Linked DNA regions of Homo sapiens: region 2 is linked to region 1. The links are contacts of gene promoters, found by promoter capture Hi-C in blood cells and fetal thymus (Javierre and others, 2016). All regions are on one chromosome and are shown on one strand. Each heading gives the region's core, a stretch centred on a gene start or on the middle of the fragment in contact. The rest is flanking DNA. Distances are from core to core; before and after follow the strand shown. Region 1 holds the start of TNKS1BP1 (tankyrase 1 binding protein 1). Region 2 overlaps LOC105369313 (a long non-coding RNA gene).

Evidence for each region. The method cuts DNA at HindIII sites, captures the fragments that hold promoters and counts their contacts. A CHiCAGO score of 5 or more calls a contact.
Region 2: a fragment that was not itself captured here is called in contact with the fragment with the promoter of TNKS1BP1 in region 1 in 2 of 17 cell types (total CD8 T cells and naive CD8 T cells); the score reaches 6.4 in total CD8 T cells.

What each region holds. Positions count from the first base shown.
Region 1 is chr11:57,321,995-57,329,607 of GRCh38, forward strand. TNKS1BP1 (tankyrase 1 binding protein 1) reads right to left here and starts at 2,958. Exons shown (of 12, transcript NM_033396.3): 1 at 2,846-2,958. It overlaps SSRP1 (structure specific recognition protein 1), which reads right to left. Exons shown (of 17, transcript NM_003146.3): 13 at 6,303-6,432; 14 at 5,718-5,888; 15 at 5,432-5,520; 16 at 4,709-4,895; 17 at 3,994-4,484. The coding sequence ends at 4,413. It overlaps LOC124902831 (small nucleolar RNA U13), which reads right to left and starts at 6,967; the gene lies at 6,865-6,967. RefSeq lists a silencer at 2,762-3,041 and enhancers at 3,172-3,221, 3,251-4,124. The HindIII fragment of the contact is 11,807 bases long and covers 1-3,525 here.
Region 2 is chr11:58,502,358-58,510,047 of GRCh38, forward strand. It overlaps LOC105369313 (a long non-coding RNA gene), which reads right to left. Exons shown (of 5, transcript XR_007062673.1): 3 at 3,112-3,185. It overlaps OR5B21 (olfactory receptor family 5 subfamily B member 21), which reads right to left and starts at 5,748. Exons shown (of 1, transcript NM_001005218.3): 1 at 4,450-5,748. The coding sequence starts at 5,748. The coding sequence ends at 4,819. The HindIII fragment of the contact is 3,170 bases long and covers 1,435-4,604 here.

The DNA of each region.
Region 1 (7,613 bases), core at 1,708-4,207:
GCCAGTAGGTTTAGCAGAGAGAAGTCTCCTATTTCTAACAGAGGCAGAGTGTGGGACAGGAAGAGAGAACTTGGAGTGGGGGGGGGGGGGTAGGAGGAGGTCAAGGGAGGTTCCCAACAGCCATATCCTCAACTCTTCAAAGATCCTCCCCAACTCTTATCTCCTAACCCCAAAGTCCTAGCGCTTCAGGGAGTCACTCACTGCTCCCTCCTCTGACAAGCTCTCCAAGACACCCCACTTACAGTCCCCACAGTGCCCCTTGGGTAGGACGGCCCCGCTGGAGGTGTCTACTCAAAGCAGAGCTAGAGAGCTGCAAAGTATGAAGTCTGTCTGTGAATCACCTCACGGGAGACGGGAAAAACCCGCTCCTCCCCAACCTGGGCTCCGCCCCACTGCCTGCCTCCCCCTTCCCACTCACCCTCCTTCCCTCTCTCCCTCCCTCCCGCAGCTGGGAGTGGTTCCTTCTCCCCCCTCTCCCTGTTCTCCTTCCACATCCCTGCCCCACTCTCTCCCCTCCCTCAGAACTGTCTCATCCAAACACGGAAAAATAAGGAATAAAAAGTAAACATCTGGAATATATTTTTTTCTTTAATTTCTCAATCGCTTGGCTTCAGCTTGGAATTTGATGAGGTAAAGCCAGGGCCTAGTCCTGTTGCCATAGCAATGGCCTCCCACTGGATTTCCAGGGCCTAGCCAAGAGGAAGGAGGAGCCGGCCCAGGCCTGGGCTGGGAGAACGGGACAGGGCTTGAGAACATCCGGGGGGTGGAGTGACTTGGGGGAAAATTCCCTGGGGCTCCACCTTCCACGACAGTCAGGGTGGAGCAGCCACAGCCTATGTATGAAAAGGGGTTATGTGGGCTTCACTCACCAGCCTAGGGTTGGCTTTAAGGAGTTCTGAGGGGGACAGAAGAAATTAAACCAAGAGGCACAGCCTGGTGGTAGAAGCCTGTCACATGAGCTTCAGGATCTGATATACCAAGATTCAGTGCTGGGTGGGTCTACCACTTTCTAGCCCTGTGACTTCTCCAAGCCTCAGTTTCTCCAACTGAAAAATGGGATTATTGAGACCCTGAGGGGGCTTACATGAAATAGTACATGAAATAGGCTTAGCACAATGCCTAGCACATAATAAGTGTTCAACAAATGTTGCCTATTATTACTGTGATTCCATTCAGTGTCACCAATGAGCTAACATCCCTGATAACCACCTCCTCCTCTTCCCTGACCCCAGGCTACCAGCATTCCCAGACCATTCCTTCACTCTCCCAGGCCCTAGTCCTGTCACCTGTTCTTCAGATACTCCAACCACCTCCTCAGTTCCCATCCTGACTCCTGAAGCACTCTCCCACCCACAAAAACATGGAGACCCTGGGGGATAGGGCCCTGCACCTCTCATGCAAGGCGGAAGTTTCCCTCACCTGGTATGCAGAGCCCTGAGGACAACCCAAACTTCTCCAACCTGCAAGGGGCATTGCCTCACTTAAAGTCACCCACTCCAGCTGGTCTGGGAAGACAGCACCAAATCCTTAAAAGGGACCCCCAGTGCTCATCCTCTGCAAAATCCAACACCCCTCCCCTAACGCTGACCCTGCCCCAGGTGTTTCAAAGATGGGAGAGGGTATGAAGACAGTAGAGAAACCCAGTACTGTCAACCCATTGGTCAGTTAACCACCACGGAAGACTGCCCACTGTGGGTGGGTGAATAACTGTGCAGAGCCAGGCCAAGTGTGGTGGGGGGAGGGGCACATGATAGAAAAAATAAAATTAAAACACAAGATTGTTTCCTTGTCCTTGAACATTATTACTAGGAACATAGTGTGGGTGGTTGGAGATGGAAATTAATTGGCTCAGAACCAAAAAAATCCTTTCACCTGGGGTTCTGATGGGCCCCTCTGCGGTATGAGGGGCTGCAGCAATGAAGGCGGGCTCAGAGTCCCCAGGTGCGGAGGTGGCCACAGCAACTCAGAGACCCCAGCCAGGGGCCCCAGGTGACCAAGGCCACCAAGGCTGTGGCCAGAAGCTGCGATTCGCAGCGGTTCTGAGCACTCCCCACCCTCAAGAGACCAGGGGGTAGAGGGTAGCAGGGTAGAAACGAGCTGACCCCTGGCAGATAAGGCCTCCAGAAGGGCTGGGCAGCTCCAGCCCCGGAGGGGACTCGGCGCAGGCGGGGTCGCCCCTATGGACCCCAGGATCTCCAGCCGGATCCGAGGCTAGAGAGGTCGGCAGGGACAGCACGTAAACTGCTGGAAAGAGGGAGGGCCAACGGGAAGATGGAACAGCCCCGGGCAATGGGCTGTCTGGAGGGGCCCAGTGGGGAGCTCTGGACACAGAAGGGACGGCGGCAGCCGAAGAGGAGGAGGAGGAGGGGGCTGCGGTGGCGGCAGAAGCGGAGGACCTGTGAGCGGGCTGTGAAGCAGCCGGCGAACAGACGGTGGGCTGCAGACGTCGATCAGGTGGGGGCGGACTGGGGTGGCTGGGGGCGTGCCGAAGGAGCCGGGGGAGGGGGCTAGCGCGGCCCGGAGGAAGGGGAGGCAGGGGTCCCTCCAGCGGCTCTGCCCGCCCCCGGCCCCGCCCCAAGCCCTCGCCCCCTCCCCCCTTTCTTCTGGCTCTGCCAGCACGAGCTCCAAGCCATGCGCCCTCCGCCTCCGCGCACACGCGCCACCTTCCCCCGGGCCTCCAGCGTCCCCAGCGCCCTCGGCCCCTGCAAACTTTCCTGGTGACCCCCCGACCACCACCACCTCAACCCGAGGTGTCGGCTGGAAAGCACCCACTCCTTCCATGCCCCTCCCCCGCCCCATCCCGGACCCCGCCCCCTCCTTCGCCCGACCGCCCCCGCGCACTCACGCGCTCGCCCGGGGTCCGGCTCCGCTCGGCTCGGGGCCCCGATGCCAGTCCCCGCCGCCGCCGCCGCTGCTACCGCCGCCGCCGCCGCCGTCACCGCGGGACGAAGCCACTGCGAGCCCCGGCGGGGCCCCGCCCCAACTCCGCCCAGGTCCACGCCCCCAGGGCGCTTCATGAATATGCATGAGCCGGTTGGAACCCGGGAGTGGGAAGCCCGTGCAGAATTCGTCCCACCGTCGGCAAACAGGCGCGGCCCAGCACTCAATTATTCATGAGGCTTGCAGATGAGGGGCCCGCCCCAGTCTCAGACCGGGGCGAAACTGACGCAATTCAGCCGGGAGCGCTCGGGTAAAATGGCCACCGAGACGACTGCCTAGAGAAACTGCCTTGGCGGCCCCTCCCGGGCTCCGCCGCCTGCACAGAGCACAGTATCATCGAGCTACGCCGGCAAGAAGGTAGCCGCCGGCTGACTGAAGCGGCTTCCTGATACAACCACCTGAGTGCTGAGAACGCGCGCAACGTGGCCACCCTCCTGTGTCAATTCAGATTTAGAGCCACCGTGAAGAAGTCTGGCAGCTCTGCATTCCTCATTAGTGACCTTTATCTCCTTTTAGGCCCCTTCTCAGACATGGGTTCCTCCCTACACTGAAGTTTGTATACCCCCTTCTTCCCGTAAGAACAAAAGCTTCACATATAACTCCGTACTTTGTTGCACCACCACCAGGCTGCAACCACCACCACTCTACGCACACGCTCATCCTCCCCGACTCTCCAGGCTCAGGTTTCCACTCCCCCGGCTGCGGGAAGGACAGTCAATCCTGATTTCATTATCGAAAGCCTTGGAAGACCCTTGACTCATAGGTAAGGATGCAGCCAAGAGCTGCCTCCCCCTAGCTTGGTTGGCTAATGGAGTGTAACTGGGAGAAACTTCCTAATCAGATCAGCTCTCATTTCTAGACTCTCAGGTGGCCCATCCGGGCAGAGGCGGGTGAAAACCAATGCTCGTCCAGCCGGGAACAGAACAGGATGTACCTCGAGACTTGCTTCCCGGCTGGCCAGGAAGGCCCTGCCCAGTCTGACCAGAGCAGTAAACACCACCAATAAAAGTGGGAGCAACACACCAAGGCTACAAAGAAAGCATGAGGACATGGTTTCCAAAGTCAGTTCCCTTTATTAAATCATTTTCACAGACCAGAAATACAAAATGAAAGTAGAAATAGGCCCCAGGTAGGAGCTACAGGCCTGGCCTCACATGACCCCTGCTCCAGCAACTTGAACAGGACAAGCAGCAGCTACATCCTTAAGGTCGGGAAAGTAAGATGAGGATTTGGATCCTGCATTGCCCTGCCTCCCACCCTATCTCTCCCCAAATTATAAACAGCCATCCTTGGGAAGCAGCAGAGTTAAGACGTCTCCCCACTGCCCTAGTGACATACACACCAACAGGAGAGCATGTTCAGATGGCACAGAATCCAGGGACTGCATTTCATGAGGAGAAACTGGTACCAAAATATGGGTGGGGAGTCGGGGGGTGTGAGAAGGCAAGCGCAAAGAGAACCTTCCTCCGTTTCTACTCATCGGATCCTGACGCTGAGTCCTCTGAGCTGGGGGGAGTACTGGCTAGTTCTTCTTCTTCAGAGTCCTGAAAACCAAAGGTGTCTTAAGGGAAAAGCTGGAGTCCTGGGTGCCCCACCCACTCTTCAGTGAAGGGCCCGCAATTCCCTACCGCCCCCAACTACAGCACCCCCCTTCAGAACCTCAGAATTCCACCATCCACTCCAACTCATTACTCTTACAGACCAACCCCACACAGACACACATGCCCCTCACCCTGCCCAGCCCACAGGCCCCACATTCCTGCCGCACCTCGCTCCTCCTCCTCTTCTTTTTGCTCTTGTTCTCTCCCGAAGAGCTCTCATCACTAGACACAAACTCTTTGCTCTTGAAGCTCTCGCTTAGCTGCCTTGAGGACGACTTGGATGATGAGCCCCTAGAGGGCGTGGATTTCTTTTCCATCTTTACCTTTACTTTCTTCTTCTTCTTTGACTTGTCCCTGTATTGGCAAGAGGGAAGAGGAGCTGGGCCTTCAGGTCCCCTGTCACCATGACCAAACCTCTCCCAGCTTTAACAAGGCCTTTCCCAATCCCAGCCACACAGCCCATTTCACTCTGAACGTAAATAGCTGCGTCAGCCTGGAGGGCACCAAGGGAGAGTATCATGAGTACACCAGAAGAATCAGAGGGCACAGCCTAAAGCAGCCCAATGTGCAAAACCTACTTGATATTTCTTGCTTTATCTTTTAGAGTTCATGCAAACTGTGCACTGCACTCCATAATAGTATTTTTTTCGTTCCCCCATACCTTCAAATAAAATGGTCCAGGAAAAGAGGCCATATTTCCCCAGTGACTTGAATGCCCTATTGTGTCACCCATACTTGGGCAATGGCCTACCCAGGTTTGAGAAGCACTACCCTACTGCAGTCAGAAGCATCTCTGCTGTCTTTAACTTTCCAATGCTCAACTTCGGCCTGTTAAAAAAAAAAAAGTCTGCCACAAAAATCAGTGACTGGGCCATGTTCTCGACACTCACCTCTTAGAAGACTCGCCTCGGCCCCCTTCATATTCTTTCATGGCTTTTTCATAGTCCCTCCTGGCATCCTCAGCCTTGCGATCCCACTCCTGTCTCACACACAGAAAAAAACAGTTAAGAATAAGACCTCTCCCATCTCCCCTCTCCCCTGATGCAGGCAAAATCGATACAGAAAGTCCCACCAATGGCTCATACTGCTCCCCTATCAGTCATGAGACTCGCCACCCCAAGACAGCACCTCTCGCCAGCCCATGAGAGGCATCACCCCTCCTCTGCTGCTACTCACCTCTTTCTTCTCTTTGGACATTCCCTTCCAGATCTCGCCTGCCTTCTTGGAAAGATCCGTGATGCTGATGCCAGGATGGTCTGACTTGATCTTCTCTCGGCTGGCATTGAGCCACAGCATGTATGCAGACATGGGCCTCTTGGGGGCATTGGGGTCTTTGCCCTTCTTCACCTACATAAGAACCCAAATGCCTTCAGCTATTTCCCACAGAACCCATACATTTTCCCAAATAAATTATTTAGATCACTTAACTTGGAGAAAAAGTGGAGGACTAAATAGCATCAGGCGAGACGAGAGCTCCCTAAGGGCAAGGATAGTATCTCCTTCCCCTCTGCAATTCAGTGCCTAGCTTACCAGGACAGAAGCCCATCTCCTAATTCAGACCTTCCAGAAGCTTATTAATCTCAGGGCTAGTGAGAAAAATTTCCAAGAAGATAACCCTCAAGGCTATAATCACTGGCTATAAAAAACAGCCCCAAGGAAGAACAGGTCCTACTGGTGGTGGACAGGAGAAGGTAAAGAGAATGCCTCCCACGCCCCCCACCCACTGCACCACACACAGGCCCTCCCATCTACAGTCTGCACCTCCACAGGCTTCTTGCGGCTCTTGCGGTCCTTGGCCATCTTGGCCTTTTTGAGCTGTTTCCGCTTCTTCTCATCCCGGTCACTGTCACCCTCATTACTGGAGGAGCTGGCAGAGGCGTTGCTGTCAAACCTGCCAGAGAACAAGCCAGGCTTAGACTTGAGGAGGGAAGACAGGACCCCACGGCCTCAGGACAGGAGGAAGACAAATCCAAAGATACCCACCCAAAAGGGGCAAGGGAGGAAGACCAGAGGACAGTATCCACCACCAATCCCCAACACTGCTTTCTCCCATTCACTGTGGTGGCTTCAGCCATGCCCTCTCCAGACCCAGCCACAGCAATTGGTTACTTGATTGGAATTAATGAATGAAAAACAAATCAATGAGCTTCAGCGGATCTCCCTGGGCATGGCCAAACCAGGTCCTAGTCCATCCCCAGGACACCACTGGCAGAAACACTGCCTCATTCATGCCTGGAACATGGCCCAAATCCACTTCACCACTTCCCTCGGAGTAATCACCTTAATCTACCCTATAGTCTTTTTTGTCTTCTTTTTTTTTCCATGTCAGATGGGTAATGTGTCAACATCGTAACAAGGCTGGAGGGTGGCACATTTCACACACGCACGTAACACCCAACCATTATGTTTATGAACTACAAAAGGATTGGCCCCTACAGTCTTCTGATGAAAAGATAATCAGTTACTACAAAAAGAGGAAAACCAACTTCAGTCCAACCCAGTGCCTACCCCTGTAATTGACAGTCTTGTCTGATATATGTGAAACTCCTCAAACAATGCAACTACCTTACACCTGTATGCTGCTGGACAGTCTTCAAGGCACTTTCACAAGTATTTGCTCATTAAACCTTCATAAACCTTCATAAGCATGTGGCAGGCTGAACTAGAGGACTCCTGTTGGGTGTTTTTTTTGCTGCCCGACATTCTTTTACAATCCTTCTGGATTAAGAGAGCAGAGTCCCAATTTTCTGTTGGGAACCACCTTGCCCCCACTCAGGAAGGGCTTACCCCAACCACAGGCTCTAAGGGTGGGCACTTGGCCTATTTCTGGCCCATCAGACCCCAGCCCATTCTAATAACTCAGGCTAGAAAGGGGCAGGTAACCACTGTGTTCACTATGCTGTTCACCAAAAGAGGCACTTCTGGTGTTGTTTTAAACCAGTAGGATTAAGCCTGCCCTGAGCTTCTGAGAGTCACTGGGCACCCCATGGGGTAAACCTATTTTTAATTAAGGAAATCGGAAGAAATAGATTTGAGCGCCTGAATCCAGTAGTGTCTGAAGCCAATTAAATC
Region 2 (7,690 bases), core at 1,770-4,269, 1.2 Mb after region 1:
TATGTGTATATATATAGACACATAAATATGCACACACATGTGTATATGCATATGTATATACAATAACTTTTTTTCCTAATTAAATATGCTACAAATATCTTATCCCTCCCCCCACACATTTTGTGAAATAATCACAGGCTAACAACTGAGAAATTCCATGTTATGAACAGGAGGGAGAATTCTCAGGCTTGGATCTAGATACCTGATAGGTGAGATCCTACAGAAATTTTTCTGTAAAAGCATGATTTCTCTATAGAGATGCAATTATTCTCAAAGGCCCAGTCTCTTCACCTTGTTTGATGACAACAAGTTTCAATTGCCTGTAAAAGTAACGGACTGAGGCATTAGTGGTTGACCCTCTTCTAATCTGAATGACCAACTTTCCTACAAGCTCCTGCCAACATGCCATGTGCAATCCCACCTCCATACCCGAGTTCAGATGGTTGCTTAGGAACTCCCCATTCAGCTCTGCTTATGTTATTACCAACAGCAACACTATAGTTCAAAAGAGGGTAGCAATTCTGAAGATGCTTTCTCACCCACTATCTCATTTAGCCTGCAAAACGCCCTAAGGAAGGTATGGCTGGTGCTATTGTCTTCACTTTGATGATAAGAAAATTGGCTCAGAGATACGTGGCTTATACCAGCTTCACCACTGGCAATTGGTAGAGTTTTGACTAGAAAGTAAGGTTGGAATCTTGGAATTCTGGGTTCCATCTACATTATTCCTTCAGAGCTTGGCTCACATCCCACATCCTCTGAGGATCTTCCCCTGCCCATAGGATTCTTTCTTGTCCCTGATGAGTTCTAATTATTATTTTCTAGACTATTCATTTGATAATGGCCACAAATGTCTTTGAACTATCATCTACCTAGACGTATGTCCTCTGTTCCACCACGTTATTTGTAAGTTGCTCCTGAAGCAGGAACAATATTGAATATCAACTGGTTTCTTCATCAACTTCACACCATGCCTTTTCTGCAGCTTGTGTCTAGTTAACATTGGCTGAGGCTGGGCTATCACTGTCGGCTGCGGCACTCAAAGAGCCAACTCTATCAAGACTGAAAACAAATATGCCCTGATCCATTCATGCTCTGTGGAATACTGGGAAAATTCCTGCTGGTAGTTACTGAACATTGAGTCATTAACCTTAAGGTGCATTACATCAGTAAACATATATGCAGGGGGCTTTACTTTGTGGAAGTAGGAATTACATCTTACAGTCTTATTTGTATTCTTCAGAGTGCCTTCCACATGGCAAGGACTCATTATGGAAGAGTGTAAGTGAGTTACACATTAAGTAAGACCTCCATTGAAATTTACTAACGTACTTGGTGACTTATTTTTTCAGAGTCTTGGTCAGGGAAGGCAAAAACTCAGTTTCACACCTCGGTTCCTCTTTTTAACAGTAGACAGGTAAGTTAACTTCTCAAAGCTTTGGTTTCCTCCACTGCAAAACTGAAGCACAAATAACTATATCATGGTGAATAAATGAAGGTAAAAGTATAAAATTTCTTTTTATACCACAAGTACTTTATAAAATATAAAAAAGGGTCAAACAAGATTTGGTTCTTTGTGAGTTTAAGCAAGTTAAACTGTAAAAATCGGGGTTTTTAATTGTGAAATGAGAGGATTGGTTTAGATTAGTTTTAAATTCTTTCAGCTTTTGGCTAAAGAGTCTATGACTCCGCAATTCCAGCTTCAATTGCCAAGGAATTTAATATTTTAATTTTCCACTCCCAATACATAAACCTCAACAAATGCTTTAATGCACAAAGGGAACATCCTATTTAGAATAATTCAATCATAATCCATTTTTGAAAGAATAATCTATCCTGATATAAATAACTGCCCTGATTTATGAATTTTCACATTCTTTTTTGAACATTTCAGGTAGGAAGTCCCTGTGCCTTTATTGCACTGCATTGAGCGGCAGGCCCTACGCACAAGGTCTCTCATTCATCAGACAATTCCTGCAGGGAGCAAGTGGGTGTTGTTATTAACCAAATGGGCATTTAGTCTCCATTTGACAGATTTCCTATGTGGAAGGGAAGAGCTCCTTGCAGTAACGTATACTCTGTGAATTGATGTCTTGCTGGCGACAGGACATCTCCTTCTGAGTAGTTTCTATAAATGAATACCCGTGTAATGTCAGCTTGAAATATGTCTGCTGTAGAGCTGGGAACTTGGAGGGCAGGAAGTTAAACAAGGAATGAAAATAAAAGCTAGGATTTGGATGGGACGAGCTTCACCTATCAGTCCTTGGACTTCCTATTTTTGCTCAGGCAGCTCAAGAGCCAAAATAAGAAGTCCAGGGAGAGCTAAGTGAAGAAAGAGCTAGTATAGAAATCTCAATGGTATGAAATACACATTCATTATGATGGGCACATTCACATACTTAATTTCATATTACCCTCACACTTTATCCTGTATATTGGGTTCAGTAAGACTAAATGACTTTCTTGAGGTCACACAATTGATAAGAACAGTTAGAATTTTCATCCAGCTTTTGATAGTACTCTTTTATACCTATTTACAGTCAGATAGAACACTTGTTTGAGGTGATTTCAACATAAAATATAAATATGTAGACATTGAGCCCTTAAATCTCAGGAGGCCCACATTTTCCTGCCTAAACTGAGGTATAGAGGCATAACAAAATATGTCCATAAGAATGATAAAATGGACTTTGGGGTCTCGATGGGGGAAGGTTGGGAGGGAGGTGAGGAATAAAAGACTATATATTGGGCACACTGCTCGGGTGATGGGCACATTAAAATCTCAGAAACCACCACTAAAGGACTTATCCATGTAACCAAAAACAACCTGTACCCCCAAAACTAATGAAATAAAAATTAAAACCATAAAAGAAATAAACATGCCCAGATACACATCTTAATATATACTGTAATGGTTATGATATATAGACTCTAGACTTTAATTTTTTTATAGAAATCTAAATGGCCTAGTGGTGAGGAAAGTTCCTGCTTGGGCTGGGCATAGAAAGAAGTTGGGAAAGAAAAAGAGGAGAAGGATAAAATGAAGTAAAGAAGGAGGAGCAGGATGAGGAGGGAAAAAAGTCAATTATATCAAGTAGGGAAAATGTGTACCTGAGATTGGAATGCACCCAGTGCTTGGATAGCTGCTTCCCAGGCTCTTCTCCAAATGCAGATACTCTTGAGCTCTGTAGATTTCAATGAGAAAGATTCCTATATGCAGTGGATCCTGGCCTGTAAAGGCTGTTCTTCCTGTGTGTTGCTGAATAGGCCTCATTGCTAAAGAAGAGGGGAGGGAGGGGGCTGAATGGGGGAGGTATAGGTTGTCTAGGCCTTGGGCTCAGAAGCTCCTGATCTTTTCAGGTGATGGCAACCATGTGCCAGAGAAAGCTATTCTCATGTTTCTCATGTTCCATAACTCCTTCTTTGCAATTTTTCCCAGAAGACTTATGATTTATCCTCCTCAGACAGAGGCTGCCCTGTACATAATGGAGCTTGATAATCTGAAAACTAAATTGACATTTTAAGCCAACTGAGTTAGCCAACCAAGATTTCTGGTTTTCATCTATAAGGTCAAAATTAATTTGTTGGGTTTTTTGGGGAGATTTTGAAATCATGATCTATTGTGGTGACTTAGATTAACTGTAGTTATAAACACCATCAAGGAGTTGATACGTGAGAAGTGAAATTAATCACCACTCCCTTCCCACACACACACATTTGCTCACACCATCTAGCACATGAAACAAGACCTGAAGGTGTACTAGCACTGTGCGTCACCGTGCTGTTCCTAAGAAGTAAATTTCCAGGCAGGCTTTTTTATTCTTGTAGCATCTAATTACAGAACACCGGAATGCAATGGAGACCCAGAGGTGAGCTGAATTATTGAAAAAGTAAAAGCAAAGACAGTCCAGAAAGCTATTATATATCTTCATAATAGATTCACCAAACTTAAGGGTGCTAAGAAATGCAAGCATTTAATTCAGAAAACAAATATATTTTTTCATAGCTCTAGGGAAAACTGCTTTTTTTCTCTAAACCTTCTGGAAGTTTTGGTAATTATGTTAGACAGAGACAAGAAACATAAAAGATAGTGTAGGCTCTCCGAAGGAAGTTGTATTTAGTCAGGTTAAAGTTGAAGTAATTCATCTATTAAAGCATTCCCATATTTCTGTATATAACAAGGTGTAATGTTTCCCCAATGATTTAGCAAAAGGGAATGGAAATTACAAAGGCACATGACTAGTGAGTAGGATAGGAATGTGGGTAGAGAAGGGAGAGTAAGGGGTTGGAAAGATTTAATCGTCAGCTACCTGACTCGATCTAGTGCCTTGTCCTTTAAATTACAACTTTCTCTCAAATATCATTTAAAATATTGAAACATCCTTTGTCTACCTCAGAAAGTCCAACTTTCAAACTCGCAGAACAAAAGAATAAAAAAGATACTGTGTGTTCAGTTGATAAAAATGAAGGTGAAATCTTTACACCAAGTTTAATAGTGAATGAAAAATTCTTACAATTAAAAACAGGATGAGGAAAATTTGGTACATTCATTTGTATGCTTCAATCTTCTGCTTTAAACCACGTCAAGAAACTAAAGCAAGAAAAGCTTAACTGTCCCATGTTGTTGTTCACTAAATATAAGATTATCTTTCTAAGTAAGACTTTCAACGTGCTGCTTTTTACATCTTCTAATAGCAGAAGTAACCGCTGTTCTTGGGGAAGAAAGAACTGAAACCAGTCAAACGTTAAAAGTCATGATGGCATTTAGGTGTGAGAGAAAGTTTATCCCTTAATTGCTTGCCTACTTCCCATTCACATTTAATATTGGGGGTAAAGTTTGTTGAGTATTTTCCAGAGAGCACTTTTCACTTCTTTGTTCCTAAGGCTGTATATCAAGGGATTCAGCATGGGAATCACCACTGTGTAAAACACAGAGGCTATTTTGTCTGTGTCCACGGACTGGCTGGAGTTGGGCTGTAAGTACATGAAGATGATTGTGCCATAGAAGATGGACAAAGCAGTGAGATGGGAAGCACAGGTGGAGAAGACTTTCTTCTGCCCTTCAGCAGAATGCATCCTCTGAATGGTGATGCATATGAAGAAGTAAGAAATAAGGATGACCAGGAGGGTGAAAAAGACGTTGAAGCCTGCCACAAAGACCACCAACTTGCTGATGCGTGTGTCAGAGCATGAGAGAGCCAGGAGTGGGGGAATGTCACAGAAGAAATGATTAATCTCATTAGAACCACAGAAGGAGAGTCTGAAGGTGCCTGCTGCATGGATAGAGGCATTGAGGAAGCCAGAGACATAGGAACCAGTAGCAAGGAGGGCACACACACCTGCTGTCATGGTGGTGGTGTAATGAAGAGGCCTACATACCGCTGCATGGCGATCATAGGCCATGGAGGCCAGGAGGTAGCACTCAACAGTGGCAAACCCCACAAAGAAGAAGAACTGAGCTGCACATCCATCGTAGGAGATGGCCTTGTCCCCTGACCGCAATGCAGCCACCGTTTTGGGGGCTACAGCTGATGAGTAACCCAAGTCTACAAGGGAGAGGTTACTGAGGAAAAAGTACATTGGAGTGTGGAGATGGGAGTCTGAGTGGATGATCACCATCATTCCCCCATTCCCAAGCAGGGTGATGAGGTAGATGAATAAAAATGCCAGGAGGAGGGGTATCTGAAGATTGGGGTCATCTGTTAATCCCAAGAGGATAAACTCTGTCACTTCTGTGCTATTCTCCATTGTGGCCAGCTTGAATTAGCCTGGTGATTAAAGAAGAGGCGTCAACAAAATTCCAATGAAAGTATGAGAAGGGAGGATGGAATGATAAAAAAGGAGAAAACTAATGTATAGAGAGAATGTACTGTGTGTAACACTCATCCTAGAACCCTCTGTTATATTATAGCTTTTAATTCATATGAGATAGGTGCTATTATGCCCATCTTACAGATAAGGAAGTTAAGGCTCAGGGAGCTGAATATTGAGCAAGATAGCCTATCTAGGGGTCAGAATCAAAGTTCACCCCTTTATATTTCTGAATCTAAAGTTCATACATTCATCTTGAATTCTTTAACACATTTACATCATATAAATACAAATTATGATGTGGATATAAGATTGTATGTATTTAATTATTAAAAATAAAAACATCCATCACTTATTGTCTTCCACATTCTACTTCCAATAATATAGCCTCACTAAAGATTTTCTAAATTTATTTTTCCTTAAAACAACACAAGTTTATTCTCTCAAAATTCTGGAGGCCAGAAGCCTCAAATCAGTTTCACTGGGCCAAAATCAAGGTGTTGGCAGGACAAGGTGGTGCCCTCAAGGTCTGTTTGATACTAAATCCAAAGATCTTAACCACAACTTTTGAAGCCTTTATAAATTAATCCCTCAACAGTAGTTCAACTGAAAGGGAGTATGGTATATGTAAATATGAGTATGTATTTATATATATTTAATATAAAACTATAAATTTGATATATACAAATGGCTTTGTGTATCTGTGTATATGCATATGTCTTTTTTCACCCCTTATCAGAAGTCTTTGCTGTAGACCCTAATTCCAGTTAAGTCCTCCTTTCTCTCCCTCCTCAAAGCACTTGAGTCTTGGCTGATTATTGCACAATTAGCTGGGCAACCACTCACTCTTCACCTAGCTCTAAGCCCCTTGGGACAGTAACTATCTTCATCCCCTCTGGTCCACTCTCCTTACCATGGCCCCTCACACATGTATGTAAATATTTGGTGAATCAAACAGAACATCAATAGGAAAGTATGGAAATATTTTTCATGCTCTTTAATCCCACAACAAACATCCTATCATCCTCTTGTCTACCAGGTTTGTGCTTTGGGCCAAAATATTAGCTTAGACTTGTCATATGAAAAATATTCAGGAGTAACAGTGAGTTTGCAGATGGTCAGGCCTGGAGACAGGTTTCTGTCCTCATTTTAGAGCATTCTTTCTCTCCTATTTTTGTTCCTCAACCTGAGGTGTTCACAGGCTTTCCCCACTCCTAGTAGCAGAGTGAGTGGGAGCAGACTCAGAAGAAGTGAGGGAGAAAATGTGAGAAGAGAGGAGGAAAAAGGAGAAAACAGGAATTAAAGGAGAAAAATGCTTCAGCTCTGCTGGACTTTAGCTTACCTTGAAGAGTAACAGCAGCAATTTGATTGGTGACACAAAAAGAAGGGGATAGTGTAGCTTGTCCTTTTTGGATGACCATCACACACACACGATGTGGCTAGTTTCATAAGAACTGGCTCAGTCAGCTTGGTACATTACTATCCAGTAATGTACTAATTGACTTTCTGACCAGCATCACTTTCTATTATATTTATCCAGCCTTTTTTAACTTGTTTTTCTTTTGACTTTTGACATGTGTGTATACTCTCAAATTTAGCAAACACAATATCCTGTAATCTATGACAGGCAGTGTTCTGATCTTACATATTTGGAAACAGAAGGATGTGGTGCCCCTCAAGGTCACATAACTGCTTAACTGTAAAATCTGTACAATTCCAGAGCCTGGTTTTTCAGCCTCAGCACTACTGACATTATGAGCTGGACAGTTCTTTGGTGCAGGGTGTGGTGGGGGAGAGGGAGTGCTGTCCTGTGCATTGTAAGATATTCAGCAGTTTCCCTGGCCTCTCTCTAATCACTAGATTCCAGTAACACCACCAC